Regions from separate parts of the Homo sapiens genome. Here regions 2 and 3 are each linked to region 1. The links are contacts of gene promoters, found by promoter capture Hi-C in blood cells and fetal thymus (Javierre and others, 2016). All regions are on one chromosome and are shown on one strand. The core of a region is centred on a gene start or on the middle of the fragment in contact, and the rest is flanking DNA. Distances in the headings are between cores, read along the strand shown. Region 1 holds the start of COL1A1 (collagen type I alpha 1 chain). Region 2 overlaps XYLT2 (xylosyltransferase 2). Region 3 holds the start of LRRC59 (leucine rich repeat containing 59).

What was found. The method cuts DNA at HindIII sites, captures the fragments that hold promoters and counts their contacts. A CHiCAGO score of 5 or more calls a contact.
Region 2: a contact is called between a fragment that was not itself captured here and the fragment with the promoter of COL1A1 in region 1, in 2 of 17 cell types (M1 macrophages and megakaryocytes). The highest score is 6.0, in M1 macrophages.
Region 3: the fragment with the promoter of LRRC59 here is called in contact with the fragment with the promoter of COL1A1 in region 1 in 3 of 17 cell types (neutrophils, megakaryocytes and endothelial precursors); the score reaches 8.8 in neutrophils.

Annotation. Positions count from the first base shown.
Region 1 is chr17:50,200,381-50,203,082 of GRCh38, reverse strand. It overlaps COL1A1 (collagen type I alpha 1 chain), which reads left to right and starts at 1,452. Exons shown (of 51, transcript NM_000088.4): 1 at 1,452-1,672. The coding sequence starts at 1,570. RefSeq lists a silencer at 2,188-2,237. The HindIII fragment of the contact is 2,253 bases long and covers 652-2,702 here.
Region 2 is chr17:50,346,482-50,349,483 of GRCh38, reverse strand. All of the region lies in intron 1 of XYLT2 (xylosyltransferase 2), which reads right to left. Among named protein-coding and RNA genes, the nearest start is that of XYLT2, 1.9 kb to the right of the region's middle. RefSeq lists a silencer at 1,942-2,236. The HindIII fragment of the contact is 886 bases long and covers 867-1,752 here.
Region 3 is chr17:50,396,241-50,399,187 of GRCh38, reverse strand. LRRC59 (leucine rich repeat containing 59) reads left to right here and starts at 1,665. Exons shown (of 7, transcript NM_018509.4): 1 at 1,665-1,975. The coding sequence starts at 1,871. It overlaps LRRC59-AS1 (LRRC59 antisense RNA 1), which reads right to left. Exons shown (of 2, transcript NR_199069.1): 2 at 631-1,972. RefSeq lists a silencer at 1,619-1,688. The HindIII fragment of the contact is 2,181 bases long and covers 387-2,567 here.

The sequences.
Region 1 (2,702 bases), core at 203-2,702:
TTTCTCAGGACGAGGTAGATTGGGGTTGAGGCAGAGCCTTGTTGGGGGAATGGGACATGGAGGAAGAAAGGACGTGGAGTTCTAGAGCCATCTTCCTTAGATATAGCCTGCTGTCCTTCGGGTCCCCAGACCCTTTCAGAGTGTACAGATGATTCTCTCTGGTTCCTAAGGCATAGAGCAATGACCGGGATTTTCAAGAAAGAGATGAGGCAGTGGGAAGTAGCCCCTAAAACAAAGTCAATCATCCTCTGCAGCCCATCCCACACCCCCAAAGGAAAGTTTCACCCAGACACCCAAAATATCCCATACATCCCCAACACTGAGTCCAGGTACAACTGGAGAAGGGGCTTTATGCAGCTCCCAGAAAGACACCCCTTTAGCTAAGTGCCCTCCCTCCACCCAGGTTCTCTCTGGTTTGACTGTGCTGGGAAGGAGGGTCTCTAAGCAGCCCCTGGCCACAGCCATGGCAAACAAAACTCTTCTCTAAGTCACCAATGATCACAGGCCTCCCACTAAAAATACTTCCCAACTCTGGGGTGGAAGAGTTTGGGGGATGAATTTTTAGGGGATTGCAAGCCCCAATCCCCACCTCTGTGTCCCTAGAATCCCCCACCCCTACCTTGGCTGCTCCATCACCCAACCACCAAAGCTTTCTTCTGCAGAGGCCACCTAGTCATGTTTCTCACCCTGCACCTCAGCCTCCCCACTCCATCTCTCAATCATGCCTAGGGTTTGGAGGAAGGCATTTGATTCTGTTCTGGAGCACAGCAGAAGAATTGACATCCTCAAAATTAAAACTCCCTTGCCTGCACCCCTCCCTCAGATATCTGATTCTTAATGTCTAGAAAGGAATCTGTAAATTGTTCCCCAAATATTCCTAAGCTCCATCCCCTAGCCACACCAGAAGACACCCCCAAACAGGCACATCTTTTTAATTCCCAGCTTCCTCTGTTTTGGAGAGGTCCTCAGCATGCCTCTTTATGCCCCTCCCTTAGCTCTTGCCAGGATATCAGAGGGTGACTGGGGCACAGCCAGGAGGACCCCCTCCCCAACACCCCCAACCCTTCCACCTTTGGAAGTCTCCCCACCCAGCTCCCCAGTTCCCCAGTTCCACTTCTTCTAGATTGGAGGTCCCAGGAAGAGAGCAGAGGGGCACCCCTACCCACTGGTTAGCCCACGCCATTCTGAGGACCCAGCTGCACCCCTACCACAGCACCTCTGGCCCAGGCTGGGCTGGGGGGCTGGGGAGGCAGAGCTGCGAAGAGGGGAGATGTGGGGTGGACTCCCTTCCCTCCTCCTCCCCCTCTCCATTCCAACTCCCAAATTGGGGGCCGGGCCAGGCAGCTCTGATTGGCTGGGGCACGGGCGGCCGGCTCCCCCTCTCCGAGGGGCAGGGTTCCTCCCTGCTCTCCATCAGGACAGTATAAAAGGGGCCCGGGCCAGTCGTCGGAGCAGACGGGAGTTTCTCCTCGGGGTCGGAGCAGGAGGCACGCGGAGTGTGAGGCCACGCATGAGCGGACGCTAACCCCCTCCCCAGCCACAAAGAGTCTACATGTCTAGGGTCTAGACATGTTCAGCTTTGTGGACCTCCGGCTCCTGCTCCTCTTAGCGGCCACCGCCCTCCTGACGCACGGCCAAGAGGAAGGCCAAGTCGAGGGCCAAGACGAAGACAGTAAGTCCCAAACTTTTGGGAGTGCAAGGATACTCTATATCGCGCCTTGCGCTTGGTCCCGGGGGCCGCGGCTTAAAACGAGACGTGGATGATCCGGAGACTCGGGAATGGAAGGGAGATGATGAGGGCTCTTCCTCGGCGCCCTGAGACAGGAGGGAGCTCACCCTGGGGCGAGGTTGGGGTTGAACGCGCCCCGGGAGCGGGAGGTGAGGGTGGAGCGCGGCGTGAGTTGGTGCAAGAGAGAATCCCGAGCGCGCAACCGGGGAAGTGGGGATCTGGGTGCAGAGTGAGGAAAGCACGTCGAAGATGGGATGGGGGCGCCGAGCGGGGCATTTGAAGCCCAAGATGTAGAAGCAATCAGGAAGGCCGTGGGATGATTCATAAGGAAAGATTGCCCTCTCTGCGGGCTAGAGTGTTGCTGGGGCCGTGGGGGTGCTGGGCAGCCGCGGAGGGGGTGCGGAGCGTGGGCGGGTGGAGGATGAGAAACTTTGGCGCGGACTCGGCGGGGCGGGGTCCTTGCGCCCCCTGCTGACCGATGCTGAGCACTGCGTCTCCCGGTCCAACGCTTACTGGGGCAGGAGCCGGAGCGGGAAGACCCGGGTTATTGCTGGGTGCGGACCCCCACCTCTAGATCTGGAAAGTAAAGCCAGGGATGGGGCAGCCCAAGCCTCTTAAAGAGGTAGTCGGGCCGGTGAGGTCGGCCCCGCCCCGGCCCCATTGCTTAGCGTTGCCCGACACCTAGTGGCCGTCTGGGGAGCCGCTAGCGCGGTGGGAGTGGTTAGCTAACTTCTGGACTATTTGCGGACTTTTTGGTTCTTTGGCTAAAAGTGACCTGGAGGCATTGGCTGGCTTTGGGGGACTGGGGATGGCCCCGAGAGCGGGCTTTTAAGATGTCTAGGTGCTGGAGGTTAGGGTGTCTCCTAATTTTGAGGTACATTTCAAGTCTTGGGGGGGCCTCCCTTCCAATCAGCCGCTCCCATTCTCCTAGCCCCGCCCCCGCCACCCCACCTGCCCAGGGAATGGGGGCGGG
Region 2 (3,002 bases), core at 60-2,559, 150 kb before region 1:
AGCCACAGTGCCCGGTTGCCCTCTGATCTCTTAAAGGTGGCCAGTGGGAGCTGGGGGCGCCCATTCCCATCCGAGAAGAGATACCTGCAAGAGGAGGCAGCAGACCCTATTCTCTACCCACACTGGGGAGGGCACCACAGGCTGGGGAATCCCTAGGAAAGGTAAATGCAGCCCCACTGAGCTGAGTGTGCATCAGCCTGGTGACATGTGAGCTGGCTACAGAGCACAAGCAGAGAAAGACATTCCCAAGCTTAGGTGGGTAGATGGCAGAGAGCTGTAGGCTCTCCGAGTGGAAGCCAGTATCAGTGAGTTAGGAAGCTGGTCAGGAGGGCAGGGCATGAGGCACGGGGCCAGGTTGGCTGTGGTGGGGGCCAGGATGTGGGAGGAGATGGGCATGTTGGTCCCTGCACTGCAGTGGGAGCTGGCTGACCCTGAGAAGGACAATCCCAGAGGAGGCTGGGGGATGAGGAGGCAGCAGTGAGGGAGCAGAGGCCCTGGTGGGCAGTCAGCCCCCACCTCCATCCCTTCCAGGCATGTCCAAGGAGCATCGTCATCACAGCCCCAGCCTTGTGCCCCTCACAGGCTGCCCCCAGCAGCCCCTGAGGTCAGGAGCCCTTCTGATGACTGAGGGTAGGGAATGGTCCTCTGACTTCTGGCTGGGATACATTCTGGCCTCAGAGGCTCCTTCCTCTCCTCCAAGGAGGCGATTAAAATCCTCTGCCACTTCCTGGCTCTGTAGCTCCACCTTAGAATCCTTCTCTGAGTCACAGAAAGGGTGAACACAGAAATGCTCCCCCCATACCCCACCTCCTTTGACTTCTCGGGCTGCATTTAAAACAAGTGGTGAGATGGTGTTTGTGGAAGCTTTGGAAACTATAAAGTGGCTCTCTGGAGGTTCGTGACCATCCCTGGGATCCACTCTCAGCCTCTCCATAGATGGGCAGAGTGCACGTCTTAAATGCACACTGAATCCTGTGCTGCTTAAACCCCTTCAGTGCTCTCCCACTGCACTTAGAATAAAACCCTTGCCCCTTGCTCTGGTCCTTTCAGCCGCACAGAATGGAACCTTCTTTCAGGGAAAGCACCACACCCTCCTGTCCATTCCTCAAGGGTGCCCAGCTAAGCCCATTCTCCTCAGGCCTTCTGCCTGAACTCTCCTGCCCACCTCTTCCTGTGAGAAGCCTTTCCTGACCCCCTGATCTAAGCCAACCCCTTTGTAATTCTATTAAATTCCTTTTCGCTGTCTGTTTCTCTCTGTAGATTACCTGTCCATGAGGGCAGAGACCTCATCTATTTTATTTTTGTATCCCCAGTATTAGCACAGTGTCTAGTACAAAGTAGGACTTCACACCTATTTGTGGAATGAATGAATGAATGAATGAATCGTATTCCCAATGCACAGTGCTGGGATAATAAGAGTTATTTATTTACTGACAGCTGAGCATGTGCCAGGAACTCCTGCAAGTGCTTCACAGGCATCATTTTCACTTAATCTTTATAATCACCTAACACGGGAGGTGCCATTATTATCCCCATCTTGAGGAGGGATACTGATAAGGATAAGGGAGGAGGCAAAGTGATTTGCTGGTGGTCTTCTCAGGGTCAGAGCTGGAAGAGAGTGGTGAAGTGGGTGGTCCAGCTTCAGCACTCACCTTCCCATGCACCCCGTTATGCTGCCTGGCAACCCCAGAGTCAGGTGAGGGAGCAGCTGAGGGGGTCCAAGCAGCAATGGGTGCCTGGACCGCACAAGCTTTTTCAAACATTCCAGCCCAGGATTCCCCTATTCATTCAGCCAGGAAGCTGGAGGAGGAGGTGGTGGGGGATGGGGGCGGTAGCCCAGAGTGGTCACATATTCCAGGGTCAGAGGGCTCCCTAACTGCTTTGGCAGCCCATTCCATCTTGGAATGTCCCATCTGCCCAAACAGTCTTCTTACACTGGGCCTGAAACACTCTCCTACTTGCTTGTCCTACTTGTAGGTCTACACCCCACGGATGTCACGGAGCCAGCCCCACCCCCGCCCCCACCTCCTTTTGGAGTTATGGTCTCATGTGACTCTGTTCCAGCCCCCATCACCATCCCACCCTCTGGGTTCTCCCAAAAAAAGGCAAGGGCAGCTCTTCTGTCTCCACACCAGGCCTTCCAGACTGGCGAGATGCGGTAAGGGGTCGCGGGTATCGGGGCTTGCCGGAGGACAGCAGCAGATAGAGTCTCTGACCCGGAGCCCTGGAGGCAGCAGAACAGGGGCGCTGGGGGCAGGGAGGTCCTGACCTCTGGGCCACAGCTTAGGGCTGTGGTGTGGCCTGTCCTCTCCATCTCCGCAGCACGAACCCAGACCCAATGGACCCTTCCTCACCACACCGCTGAGGTGTCTGAGCCTCCCGCTGAAACCACATCGGGGAAGAGGGAGAAAGACCCTCGAGGCAGGGACTTGGGGGCTGAGACGGCTGTTGGTTGCCCCTGCTCTGCGGCTGGGGCTCTGTTACAGTCCCCATTCCCTTAAAGCCAGAGGGCCCCTCCCTAATTCCCTAAGGTCCTGAGGCCAACTCACCAGCTCAGTTCCTCCTCTCCCTGCCCTCCGGAGACCCATCCAGGTTCTTCAAACCCCCGGCTGAGGAAGCCACACCTCGGGAATACTCCAGTTCTCTCCTTCGGCGTCACTCCCTGTTCCTTCAGTTCCCGGGTACACACTTTGTCCCAGGCCTGAATTCCACCCCCGAGCTCCCCTTCCTCACCGGCCGCTGCCCCTCGGGCTCAGCTGGGGAAGGACGCCCTGAGTCCCTTGGCCCTACTCCTCCGCCCACGGCGCGCATATCCCCGCCCCCTCCCAACTTCAGAAAGTTTGGCCTGGGGCTCCCCACCTCCGAGCAGGTTCGGGCCCAGCCCCGCCTCCCAGCCCCGCTCGCCGCGCCTGACCTTCATCGCTCCCTTGGCCGGAGACCACCCTAGCATGACCTGCTCCCCCCGCCCGACTCCCAATCCACCAGGGCCCGGGTCTCCAGGT
Region 3 (2,947 bases), core at 416-2,915, 200 kb before region 1:
ATTTGTCCTAATTGAGCTGAATAGAGCTATAACACTCATTGCATGGCCCAAGATTCCATTCCTTGGAATGCGTGAGGCCAAGAAACCCAGGTCAGAGAACAAGAGGCTTGCCGCCATCTTGGAAGTGGCCCGCCACCATCTTGGGAGTTCTAAGAACAAGGACCCCTGCCACCCACCCCCCGTAACAATTGCACTTACTTTATTTGGTGTTCATAGTTTCCCTCTGAGACAAGATTTTTTATTTTTTATTTTTTTAGAGATGGGGTCTTGCTATGTTGCCCAGACTGGTTTTGAACTCCTAGCCTCAAATAATCCTCTCATCTTGGCCTCCCAAGTATTGGGATTACAGGTGTGAGCTATCCTGCTCGGCCCCTCTGAGATAAGCTTTAATATCCCTATTTCAAAATGAGTAAACTGAGGTTTGGAGTGGGTAAAGTGCTTCCTTCCTTCATTCATTCATTCATTCATCCATCCATCTATTCATTTATTCAACAGACATCTGAATGAGTAGCTACCCTGCATCAGGGTATGCCAACTCTGGGCATACGAAGATGATTAAGACAAAAATCCCTGTCCTCACAGTCCAGAATGAAGGACAGACACATAAAGATGAGTATAATACAAGGTGGATCATGAATTGTAGCTAATATTTATTGGGTACTTACTAAGTGCCAGTGACTGCTGTAAGCTCTTGGTGTGTTTTACTCCTTCAGTTCTCCCCAACCTCTGTTAGCTACATGTCTCATAGATTGATTCATAGATAAGACTGAAGCCTGGTGATTGTCTACGGTTTTATAAGTAGCAAGTGGCAGAGCCAGGATGAATACCCAGTGGATAGGTATTAGTGCCAGAGGTCCCACTTGGCCATCAAGCTCTACTGTCTCTGATGATAAAGTAGCAAACAGGGACCTAAGTTGGTTGGGGGGGGCGCTAACTCAGTCTGGCATTCACGGTGTTCAGGGGAGATTTCCTGAAGGACTAAGGAATTAGCTAGACAGAGGTGAGTGGGGGGGAGGGAGGGCCATCGCTGGGGAGGGCCAGACGTGGGAGCCACCTCCTGGAAATCTACACAGCATCTAGGCCAGGCAGGGACTGGAGCGTGTGAGGAAGCTGCGAAAGCAGGCAGGACCCAGCTTCCAAAGGAAAGTGGTCCGTATCCTAGAGGTAGCTGCAAGTTTGAAGGGTTTTACGTAGGGGAGAGACTTGGCCAGATTTTTAGAAAGATCACCGGGGAGCTGGGTGAAAGTGGATGGAAGGACAGAGACAAGCACTGAGGCAGTGAGTGGGGAGGAGAGAGGAGAAATTCAGGAAGAAGAGTTTTCCCCATGATGGTTATTCGGGGGTTAAGTAGAGGACAGGGAGCAGTTTTAGAGGACACCCAGCTTCTGCTCCTAATCAGGGGGATTGGGGTGATCTGATGAGGTCAGTATTGGATGTCAACCCAGTCTTCTGGCGCCCAGTCCGTGCCCTTTCGCCTCGTGGCACTGCCAGCAATAATGCCCGCGGGCCACGGGTGAACGTGAACCGAGCTCGCAGCCTCCAACCCCACCCCTCCGGCGGCGGCGACGTGCAGTGCATCACCCTGGGCACCAGGGGGCGTGCCCGCACACGCTCGGGCCGCTCTGGCCCAGCCCATCTCAGTGGTCGCGGAAGGTGACGTGGACACGGAAGTGGTCGTCGTCGCGGCACCGGTGGGAGCTAGGCGCGAGGCTCGGAGTGCGGCCAGCGGGCGGAGGCGGTCTCGCATCGGCGGCGACGGAGGGCTCAGGCGTCGTCGTTTGGGTGGGGGGCCGCTGAACTGACAAGCGACATTTCAGCTCCTTTCACCCGCCGGAACCCCGGAGCCGGGGCCCGCTCAGCCGGCGTTACCATGACCAAGGCCGGTAGCAAGGGCGGGAACCTCCGCGACAAGCTGGACGGCAACGAACTGGACCTGAGCCTCAGCGACCTGAATGAGGTCCCGGTGAAGGAGCTGGTCAGTATCGTCCCGCGAGGCCCAGGCGCCCACCTTCGCCGGGCGCTGGCCCCTACGTGGGCCACTTACTTTCCTCTTCTCTAAAAGCATCAGTTTCCTTTTCTTTAAAAAGAAGCGGGGTGGTGGGACTAAGTCCCCTAGGAGGCCGCGTCCAGCCCAAGGTTCTTCCCGGGATGTACACGTGTCACTTTGGCGCAGTTCCAGAACATAGGGAAGATCTGCTTCTCTGGCCCTAGGCTTTTTACAGGCTAAGAAGCGAATCTGTCACCTTTGCGGGGCTTTCACAGCGCCCACCTCCGTGCCCGACTCTGAGTAGGAGCACACGGAGCAGTTACTGGATGTATTCGAGAATGAATGAGTGACTTGTTCCAGGGGAGTAGGCCTCCTGGTAGACCTGGGTGTGGCCCAGAACCTGGCTCTTCTAGGAAGCTGGCAATTCCAGCTGGCTGCCCGAGCCCTGAGGCAGCCTAACTCGAAGAAAGTAAAGTCTCCCCCCAGCTTGGCTGGTAAACTGTCATCTGAATTCCGCTGAAACTGGCGGGAGTCCCTTTCGCCCCTCTCTCCCCCAACCTTTCCCCTGTAAACTGAAGCTTACAGCTCCAGAGAGATAGCAGGCATCTAGTTTTGTCAGCGTGGAGCTAGTTCCCACATCCCTCCTTTTCCCACTCCGTTCCCCCTCCCACCCGCGCCAACGCCCTACTAGACTCACTTTGGGTGACCCACACTTTGCTTTCTGCCGTTGATAAATTACATTTGCCTTGGGCGCTGGGCCCAGTCTTTCTTCCACCGTGGACGGGTATTACAGTGGTTAGAACCGGGTTCCTAGCTCCTCCCAGCTCCATTGCTTAATAGCCGAGTGCCCTTGGCAAGCTAGTTAGCCTTTATGCCTAGATCTCCTCATCTATACAATGGTGATAATAGTTTCCATCTCATACGCTTATTGGGAGGTTAAATACCATTGTAATGGAAAAT